3 separate regions of the Homo sapiens genome follow, and regions 2 and 3 are each linked to region 1. Evidence: promoter capture Hi-C in 16 types of primary human blood cells and fetal thymus (Javierre and others, 2016). All regions are on one chromosome and are shown on one strand. Each heading gives the region's core, a stretch centred on a gene start or on the middle of the fragment in contact. The rest is flanking DNA. Distances are from core to core; before and after follow the strand shown.

Region 1 (3,083 bases), core at 474-2,973:
TTCTAAGTGTTCTGTTATAGGAATGAAGTGTCTCACCATATCCTTGTGAGGCTGTTACTCAAATGATTCCTGCTTTACAAATGAGGAAGCTGAGACACAGATTAGTTAACTCACTTAAGGTGGTAGTTGAAAGTATTAATAGTTGTGTCTGGTGATATTTTTGGTTGTCACAACAAGGAAGCGGGATGCTACTGGCATCTAGTGAGTAGAGGCCATGGATGATGCTAAATATCTTACAGTGCTTAGGAGACATAATAATGAATTATCCAGCCCAAAATGTTAATAATAGTGTAGAAGCTGAAAAACCCTGCACAATGCTGCAATGCCTCTCCAACACCATCTTATGTTATCCTTCTTTGCTCACTATGCTTCACTTACATTATTCTTTACTTTCCTCGAACCCCCCATACCCTTGTCTTGCTCAAGGCCTTTGTATTAGCTGGTTCCTTAATCTTTGGAGCTCAGTTCACTTCCTCAGACAGGTTTTCCCTGACCATCCTATGTTAGAGTAGTCTTCCTTACATTTCTTCACTGTTTATTTCTTTTCTTTTCTTTTTTTTTTTTTTGAGACAGGGTCTTGCTATGTTGCCCGGGCTGGCCTTGAATTCATGGGTTCAAGTGATCCTCCCACCTCAGCCTCCCGAGTAGCTGGAACTACATGTGCGTGCCACCAAGCATGGCTTGTATCTCTTATAGCAACTGCCTCTATCTGAAGTTATCAGATAAAATTATTGTTTGTCTCCACTAAAAAAGGATAAACATCTTGAGACGGGTATTAGTCTTGTTCACAACTGTTCAGGAACAGTGCCTGGTACAGGGTGGGAACCAACATTAATATTTATTGAATGATTGGCTGTGCGTGGTGGCTCACACCTGTAATCCCAGCACTTTGCGAGGCCGAGACGGGCGGCTGACTTCAGGCCAGGAGTTCGAGACCAGCCTGGCCAACATGATGAAACCCTGTCTCTACTAAAAATACAAAAATTAGCTGGGTGTGGTGGCACACGCCTGTAATCCCAGCTACTCGGGAGGCTGAGGCAGAAGAATCGCTTGAACCTGGGAGGAGGAGTTTGCAGTAAGCTGAGGTCTTACCACTGCACTCCAGCCTGGGCAACGGAGCAAGAACCTGTCACACACACAAAAAAAAGAATAAAGAAAAAATATTTATTGAATGAATAAATGAATATCAGGTACTGAGATTAAAATGGCAAGCAAAACCCCCGCCTTTATGAAGCTAGCAAGTTATGGAGGTAATCACATGATAAACAAATAATATATAATTAAGCAAACAATAGACCACTCAGGAGGTTTAGGGTCTACCAACCAACTCCTAATCCAGGGCAAATGAGCAAACTGTGTTAGGGACCTACAACTTGCAGGATCTGGATAGAGATGGCAATTAGCAGCATCAACTCTCACCTTCATGGCTGGGATATAACATTTCAAATTGGTCCTGGACGTGGGGATAAAGGGCGGCCTGTGATTCAGGCCTGAGGATGTGGAGGTGTCTTGGGCTGGGCTGCTTTCACGCCAGCAGAACTCCAGGGCCAACTCCAGGGCCTTCTCCAGGCGGCAGAGCGGACCCTAGGACCCCGGCCCGCGCTGCAGTGGGGAGGGTCAGCAACCTCCACCCACCCTCATCCTCCCCCATCCTCCCGGGTACTCACCGTGCCACTGGCCCTGCAGCTAGCTACCGTTGCTATAGCGCCGACAGCGTGGCGGGCGGCTGGCCGAGAGGAGCACGGGAGAAACATGGCAGGCTCCCGTAGCCTCCTGGGAAATGTAGTTCTCCTTGGACTCTAGCCTGTTTGCTCGCGGGGTAGCGGACTACGCTCTTCCAGCTGTCGGACCTGGGAAATTCTCCTGTGCTAAATCCCGTGGCGCTCGCGGGTGTCGCCGCGGTGCATCCTGGGAGTTGTAGTTTTTTCTACTCAGAGGGAGAATAGCTCCAGACGGGAGCAGGACGCTGAGAGAACTACATGCAGGAGGCGGGGTCCAGGGCGAGGGATCTACGCAGCTTGCGGTGGCGAAGGCGGCTTTAGTGGCAGCATGAAGCGCACCCCGACTGCCGAGGAACGAGAGCGCGAAGCTAAGGTATGTCGGGCTCCCGGGGCCTGGAGATCTTCGTGCGCTGTGAGCAAGGATCAGGGAACCGGAAGGGCTTGGTTTGATGGCGAGCGGATGCGCGGTGTTAAACTAAGGGATGACAGGGCCTTGTCAGCAAGGGACCTGGAGATATTAGAGGGGATGTTACAAATTCGTGCTCTTCAGGATGCAGGCCGAGTCTTGTTGGATCGGCTCAAAAATGAGAAGCAAGATACCCATTTCCTTGTCCTTCTTCTGCATCTATTCCTTGGTTAAATTTGTCGCCATCCCTGTGCCTCAGTTTACCGGATTCTCAGATGACTGTGATCATACCAGCTGTGCTTTCTCATAATGGTCTCTGAGGACTGAGATCGGCTTAGATGAAATATCTGTGCAGTCAGCTGTGTTTCTTTGGAACAATTGTCTCCGTGACCGGCTGATAACAGTTTGTGTCTTTTAGCGCTGTGGATATGAATCTTTAACTACATTGCTCCTCTCTACCTTTGATGTTCAGCTTCTGGTAGTTGCCATTCCATGGGATGACCATAATAATGGCAACAGAGATTTTAAAAAGCATTTATTGTGGGTCAGGCACTGTATTAAGTGCATAATATTTAAATTATTTCATATCATTGTCACAGCAGATTGCAAGATAGATATTATACAGATGGAGTATAAATAACAGCCCAGCTTCACAGATGAAGAACTGAGGCTCAGAAGCATTGAGTGTTTTCCTTTCTCTCATTCCCAAACTCAGATCCTGTTGATTTGTCTACGTATATTGGGAATATGCCCACTTTTTTTTTTTTTCATCTCCACTACCTTGGACCAAGCTACCATTATCTTTTTAATAGACTGTTGGAATAGCCTATTGATTGGCCTACACTCACTCTACACCCTAACTTAACTCTTCTTCCACCTTCTCTCCCTTCCCTCAACTACCATTCTCTTCTGCACACCATAGAGTAAGATCTTCGTGAAATGCAAATATAATTATG
Region 2 (2,919 bases), core at 222-2,721, 160 kb before region 1:
ATTAACTTTCACTTCCAGCTGGGGAAATAATGGCTTAGAAAAGTGCTCAGCTGTATTTGTAACTTGGACCGACTGAAATGCCAGCCTCAAAATATTTTATTTCATTGCCACATAAAGTAAAAGATCATATGGTTAAGAGATGGACAGACAGGAGGCATCTGACCCTGTAAGTTACTTCTATCAGCATAATTATGATCTTTGCTGTGTTGTCTGGTGTGCTCAAGGGTCCCACTGTGAGCTATTAAAGAATGAGGTATTGATTACCTCTGCCTTGGGTTTTTTATCTGCAGTAAGGAGATCCTCCCTGCCTCAAGCTTTCTCCATGTTTTTAACCCTGGAACAAAAAAAATAGAGTGCGGTGGACCAAAAACCCATGAGAAGTTCCATCCATCAGTGCATGGAGGGTGGAGGGAAGGTGCTATGCAGGTGAGCAACTCTGTCCCCTGGCGGCCACTTTAGCCCCTGTCCCATTGAACATCCATGGGCCCCAGACACACAGGGAAGGCGGGGACAAGTAGGAAAAACAGAACTCCCAAGACAGTCATTTGCACTCTCAGCATGACACACGTGCATTAAAGGGAAACTGCAAGGATGTCAGGGTGATGAGAACATTCAATACAAACAGAGAGGCCCCAGGGTTATGTCCACCCTCCCCCACTCTGCGCAGTTACTGCCAGGGCAGGAAAACTGGGTTTCAAGTCAACAATTTGTCTCCTTCTCCTGAGAGGTGTTTGCCTGCAGAAAGATGAATCAGAGAAAAGATTGAGGTCTGATTTCACCCTCCATGTTCTGCCTTACCATGGCCAAGCACGCAAGGGAACACATGGTGGGAAATTGTTTCTTCCCAAGAGACTCCAGCCTCTAGTAGGAGCCCTGCTGCTGGTTCCCCTTATGCAGTTGAGTGTCTTCTTGCTCTCTAACAACTAAGGCAGTCACATTTTACTTCTGTAGTTAAGTCACCCTCTTTTAAAATGATCACTGAGCCAGTAGGCAGAAAGGCAGCTTACACCCACCTCTTACCGTGACCATGACCTTGGGCAGCCCTTGTCTCTGCCTCAACTTCCAATAACGCTAGTTACATTAGGTGCTAACTTTATGGGATTCTCTGCCGACATTCTTCCTTTGTGTGTGACTGATGGGACATTGTCTACTAGGCACACAGTAAAATCAAAGCTTCTCTTTCCAAAATTAACCCAAAACTGACTTTTGCTGTGCAATCATACTCTTGTAAAATCTGCTTTTCATATCCCTTGAGTTGTTGCCACAACTCTATATAAACATATGGAAAATGTTTCAGTTCCAAAGAAAAAAGCTCAAGTCTTCCCTAAGTCAGTGTATTGAGTCCTTAGACCACATCTCACATCTGAGAGGGGCCAGGGTTTTTTCTAACACCCACTGGATGTAGTTACCACAGCTCTGTGACCTCAGAGGAACCCAGCTTCACCTTATAAGACATGGAGGAGAGGAAAGGGCAAAGTATCTGTGGGCACAAACTGTGGACAGAATGTGGGAACAGGAAAAATAAGCCAGGGGTGATATTAACCATGACAAGTGGTGAGGTTTGGGTGATGAAGATACATTAAAATAATCCTGTCTTTCTTAATCTCCTGAGCCCTTGGTAATGCTCTATTGACTAAATACTTACCAGGTTAAAAACATGTCTTGCTTCCTGCTTTCCTGGAGGCACTCCAGTCTAAATCATCTACAAGGTAAAGAATTTATCAAAAACCATTCTGATAACTTTGACTACCTCCAGCTGGGATGCCCTGCAAAGCTTCCCGAACACCAAGGATCACCACTTACCATCACACTCTTTCTGGAACTGTGAATGCTCTGGGCTCCTGAAGTTAGATTTTGGTTTCAGATGCGATGTTAAATTCTAGGAGGTTGACCCTGGATGGCAACTTGATATATGTCTCAGAGGCCTTGAAGGTACATGCCCTCTTTGATCCAGAAGTTCCAGAGCTAAGAGTGTATCTTAAGAAATGTCATCAGTACAAACCTTATCATTGTTAAAAGTCAGTAATCATGTGTGGCATAAGTAAATTATGGTATGCTCATATGAAAGAATACTCTGTAGCCATTCAAAATCATATAGAGGAATATGCAGTGACATGAAAGAAAGTTCCTCTCCTATGGGTTAATGAAAATTATAGTACCATGTAAAGTTAACAGTGGTCATCTTTGGTTGATAGGATTATAACTGAGATTTTTAAATTCCTTTTTGTCTTGTTTTCCAAATTTTCTGCACAAAGCAAATATTATTTATTTATTTTCAGCGACAGGGTCTTGCTCTGTTGCCCAGGCTGGAGTGCAGTGGTGTGATCATAGCTCACTACAATCTTGAACTCCTGGGCTCAAGCAATCCTTCCGCCTCAGCCTCCCAAATAGCTGGGACTACAGGCATGTGCCATCACACCCAGCTATTTAAAAATATTTTTTGGTAGAGACAGGGTCTTACTATGTTGCCTGGGCTGATCTCAAACTCCTGGGCTAAAGGGATCCTCCCACCCAAACCTCCCAAAGTGTTGGGATTACAGGCATGAGCCACTGCACCCAGGCTGTTGGTGCAGTGGTGTGATCTTGGCTCACTGCAGCCTCAACCTCCCAGGCTCAAGCGATCCGCCCACCTCAGCCTCCCAAGTAGTTGGGACTACAGGTGTGCGCCACCACACATGGCTAATTTTTGTATTTTTGTAGAGATGGGGCTCTCCCGATGTTGCCCAGGAAGGTCTTGAACTACTGGGTGCAAGCAATCTGCCCACCTCGATCCCCGAAAATGCTGGGATTACCGCACCTGACTTCAGCTGGTAACTTTTTAAGTAGGAAAAAACTAATTCCACTTCTGAGTAGGAAAAAAATAATAGAACAGGATAAAAATCTTACTGGCCTTTATGGGACTGACTTCCAGCTTCCACT
Region 3 (3,057 bases), core at 146-2,645, 200 kb before region 1:
AAATCTGGGTTGTGTTTTGGGTAGGTATGTTTGGGGTGTTTCTGTAAGCACTATTGCCTGTATACCTAATACCCACTTCTCCCTTTTTCATTGCTGACAGAACCTCCATTTTCTTGAGGAATTTAAGCCCTTCAGTGGTTCCCCATTGGGCAAAGACCAAACTCCTCACCATGGCTGTGTCCCAGCCCCAGGTGGCTGCAGACTCCAGCCACTCTGACATTCTTCCAGTTCCTTGGAAGGGAGTTGCTCCCCTACCTGCCCTGCCACAAAAGGGGCCTTCGCAGTGAACGTTCCCTTTGCCCAGTTCATTCTCTTCAATCCCCTACACAGATCTCAGCTCTAACACTACTTCCTTGGGGGCAATTTGCTGTTGATTTGGGAGATTATTAGTGTCTGTCTCCCACACTGTAAGCTCCTGAGGAGGAACCATTTTTTTGCTTTCTATTGTCTCCCCGGCACCCAAGAGCTAGATGTTGTAGGCATGCAATAAATATTTGCCAAATGAAGGACAGAAGAAACAAAAGTACATTTGAAACACCTACCTGCACGCCCACAGGTCTGCACCAAGAAAGCAACTCATTATGAAAATCAGGATGATTTATTCAAAGGGAAATGAGGAGGTGGCCTCAAGGTACCATTTCTTTAAGACTAAAACATAAAGTGCTGAGAAAAATCTCAATGGACCCAAAACCTTACCTATAAAACATTTTAAATCGCTTCATATTACATTTCCTATTCTCAATTTTTGAAGCATATTTGATATATTTGCACCAAAAGGTTCTTTTTGCATCCAGACTTAATAGATATGTGATCTCTGAGTATTCAGGACTTCTGCTCATGTTCTAATCAGCAAAATATTCCCTGAATCATACATCTTTTGGACTCCGGAAAAGTAACTGTACAAAGCTGTTTAGATCACTGACTTAACTATTAAAGGCCTTCACAGAAAGAAGGAAAGGATAAAATGTTGAAGGTTGTTAAAATACATATGTTTCATACACAGGCACACATATAAGCCGATGTTTTTAGCGCAATCCATTTGCCCCCAAGTCCTTTTCTGAAAAGTAGATTCCTGTATACATGTCACTGATTACATATACTGTTCAAAATATGGGAGGATGATCTAGCTATACATATTAATGTCTTTGAAAAAATATACTTAGCACATTAAAGCCATTATTTTATGGGTAATAATGTTTAGGATGAGACCAAAGTAGGCATTTAATGTTGTTGTTTTTTTTAAGTAAATGGATTTAAGGGAGATCAGATAGTTGTCCTATAGTTAACAATGATCCTCAGACAAGACAGAAATCACAAACTTTTAAGAATTATTGAAGGTTTAGAAATGCTGCTATAGACGGATGATGTGGCTTTCTTCCTTTCCATAGCCTCATCGAGCGATACGGTTCTTGCTTATAACATCACACATGTGCTTCCAGGTTTTGGTTGCATCATGTTTTCCTCCCTATCCCATTACCCATAACTCCTATCCCTGAGCAAGTGGGTGGGCGGGTGGAGGAATGAATTTTACAGACAGACTACAACATTTCAAAATGAAATCAGGGTAGCTGATGGACCACTGCGGATATTTATGTCTTAAGGAAAAGCAACCAATATATGATACGGCTGCTCATTCAGGGCTGAAGAGAACTGATTTCCTTTTATAATCAAACAGCATTTTGAACGTGGTCTGACACCGCAAATAATCCCCACTCCCTCAGCACGCTGATGACTGTACCCACAGCCATAAGAGCAGTGTTCTCTTTGATTCAGTTTATCTTTGGGAAACCACTTCACTCTGTGGTCTCAAAGCATTTGGAATGATGATAAAGGCTTGAGTTAGTTTTATCTAGAGTGGCACACTCAGAAAACCAAAGAGAGAGAAAGCAATACTCTTTCAGGGAAGGGTACTATTCCAGGCACAGACACCTTTTCTTTCTTGCAATAGGTAAATGGTGATTCCGTGAACGATAGGGAAGCTCAGTGATCTCGAGAGTCACCCACCCAAAGCAAATGACACCGTGACCATCATTTATTCTAATATTTTACTATAAAAATGTTCAGTCATACCGAAGAGTAGAGGACAACAAACTCCCTTACACTCACCATCTAGATTCAACAATGTTAATGTTTTGCCGTATTTCATCTATTAGTTTTCCTCCTGAGTCATTTAAAAATAAGTTGCCGTCATCATGTCCTTCCCTCCTTAGTGCTTCCCAGGGTGTTTCTCTTCAGAGCAAGGACATTCCCTTACAGAACTACACTGCCACAGCCACCCCTAAGAAAATTAACTCCACATTCCTAGACTTTGTATGCTTTTTTTTTGTTTTTTGAGACACAATCTTGCTCTGTTGCCCTTGCTGGAGTGCAGTGTCTCACTGCAACCTCAGCATACTGGGCTCAAGCAATCCTCCCACCTTAGCCTCCCGAGTAACTGGGACTACAGGTGCATACCACCACACCGAGCTGACTTTTGTATTTTTTTGTAGACACAGGGATGCGCCCTGTTGGCCAGGCTGGTCTCAAAATATGCCGACTTCGGCCTCCCAAAGTGCTGGGATTACAGGCCTGAGCCACCGCACCTAGCCTTCAGACCTATTAAAATTGCCCTAATTGTCACACACCAAGAAAACACTTTTATGGTTAAGGACGGAATGTTTATCTCTTCAAAATTTATATGTTGAAAACGTAATAACTAATGTAATGGTATTTGGAGGTGAAGCCTTTTGGAGATGACTGGGTTATGAGTTAGTCATACATGGGATTTGTGCCCTTATAAAAGGGACCCCAGAGAGCGATCTTCCTTCTTCCACCACATGAGGACGCAGTGAGAAGATGCTATCCCTGAAGAAGCAAGAACTCACCAGACTCCTAAACTGCCAGCACCTTGCTCTCAGACTTCCCAGCCCCCAGGACTATGAGAAATAAATTTCTGCTGTTTATAAGCTGCCCAGTTTATGGTATTTTGTTATAGCAGTCCAAACAGACTAAGACAGTTATTTTTCTAAACCAGGATTCAATCAAGATTCAGTCATTGCATTTGGTTATATCCCTTTA

Evidence for each region. Contacts are between HindIII fragments. The CHiCAGO score rates a contact against its expected background, and 5 or more counts as called.
Region 2: a fragment that was not itself captured here is called in contact with the fragment with the promoter of RPGRIP1L in region 1 in 1 of 17 cell types (naive CD4 T cells); the score reaches 5.1 in naive CD4 T cells.
Region 3: a fragment that was not itself captured here is called in contact with the fragment with the promoter of RPGRIP1L in region 1 in 1 of 17 cell types (naive B cells); the score reaches 5.0 in naive B cells.

What each region holds. Positions count from the first base shown.
Region 1 is chr16:53,702,136-53,705,218 of GRCh38, forward strand. It overlaps RPGRIP1L (RPGRIP1 like), which reads right to left and starts at 1,724. Exons shown (of 27, transcript NM_015272.5): 1 at 1,668-1,724. It overlaps FTO (FTO alpha-ketoglutarate dependent dioxygenase), which reads left to right and starts at 2,021. Exons shown (of 9, transcript NM_001080432.3): 1 at 2,021-2,094. The coding sequence starts at 2,050. RefSeq lists a silencer at 1,634-1,683 and enhancers at 1,719-2,219, 1,834-2,243. The HindIII fragment of the contact is 16,527 bases long and covers 1-3,083 here.
Region 2 is chr16:53,546,621-53,549,539 of GRCh38, forward strand. LOC105371269 (a long non-coding RNA gene) reads right to left here. Exons shown (of 8, transcript XR_933588.4): 4 at 1,804-1,977; 5 at 1,646-1,702; 6 at 265-334. Among named protein-coding and RNA genes, the nearest start is that of AKTIP, 45 kb to the left of the region's middle. RefSeq lists an enhancer at 295-796 and a silencer at 354-533. The HindIII fragment of the contact is 601 bases long and covers 1,172-1,772 here.
Region 3 is chr16:53,506,192-53,509,248 of GRCh38, forward strand. No RefSeq gene overlaps it. Among named protein-coding and RNA genes, the nearest start is that of AKTIP, 4.5 kb to the left of the region's middle. The HindIII fragment of the contact is 3,745 bases long and covers 1-3,057 here.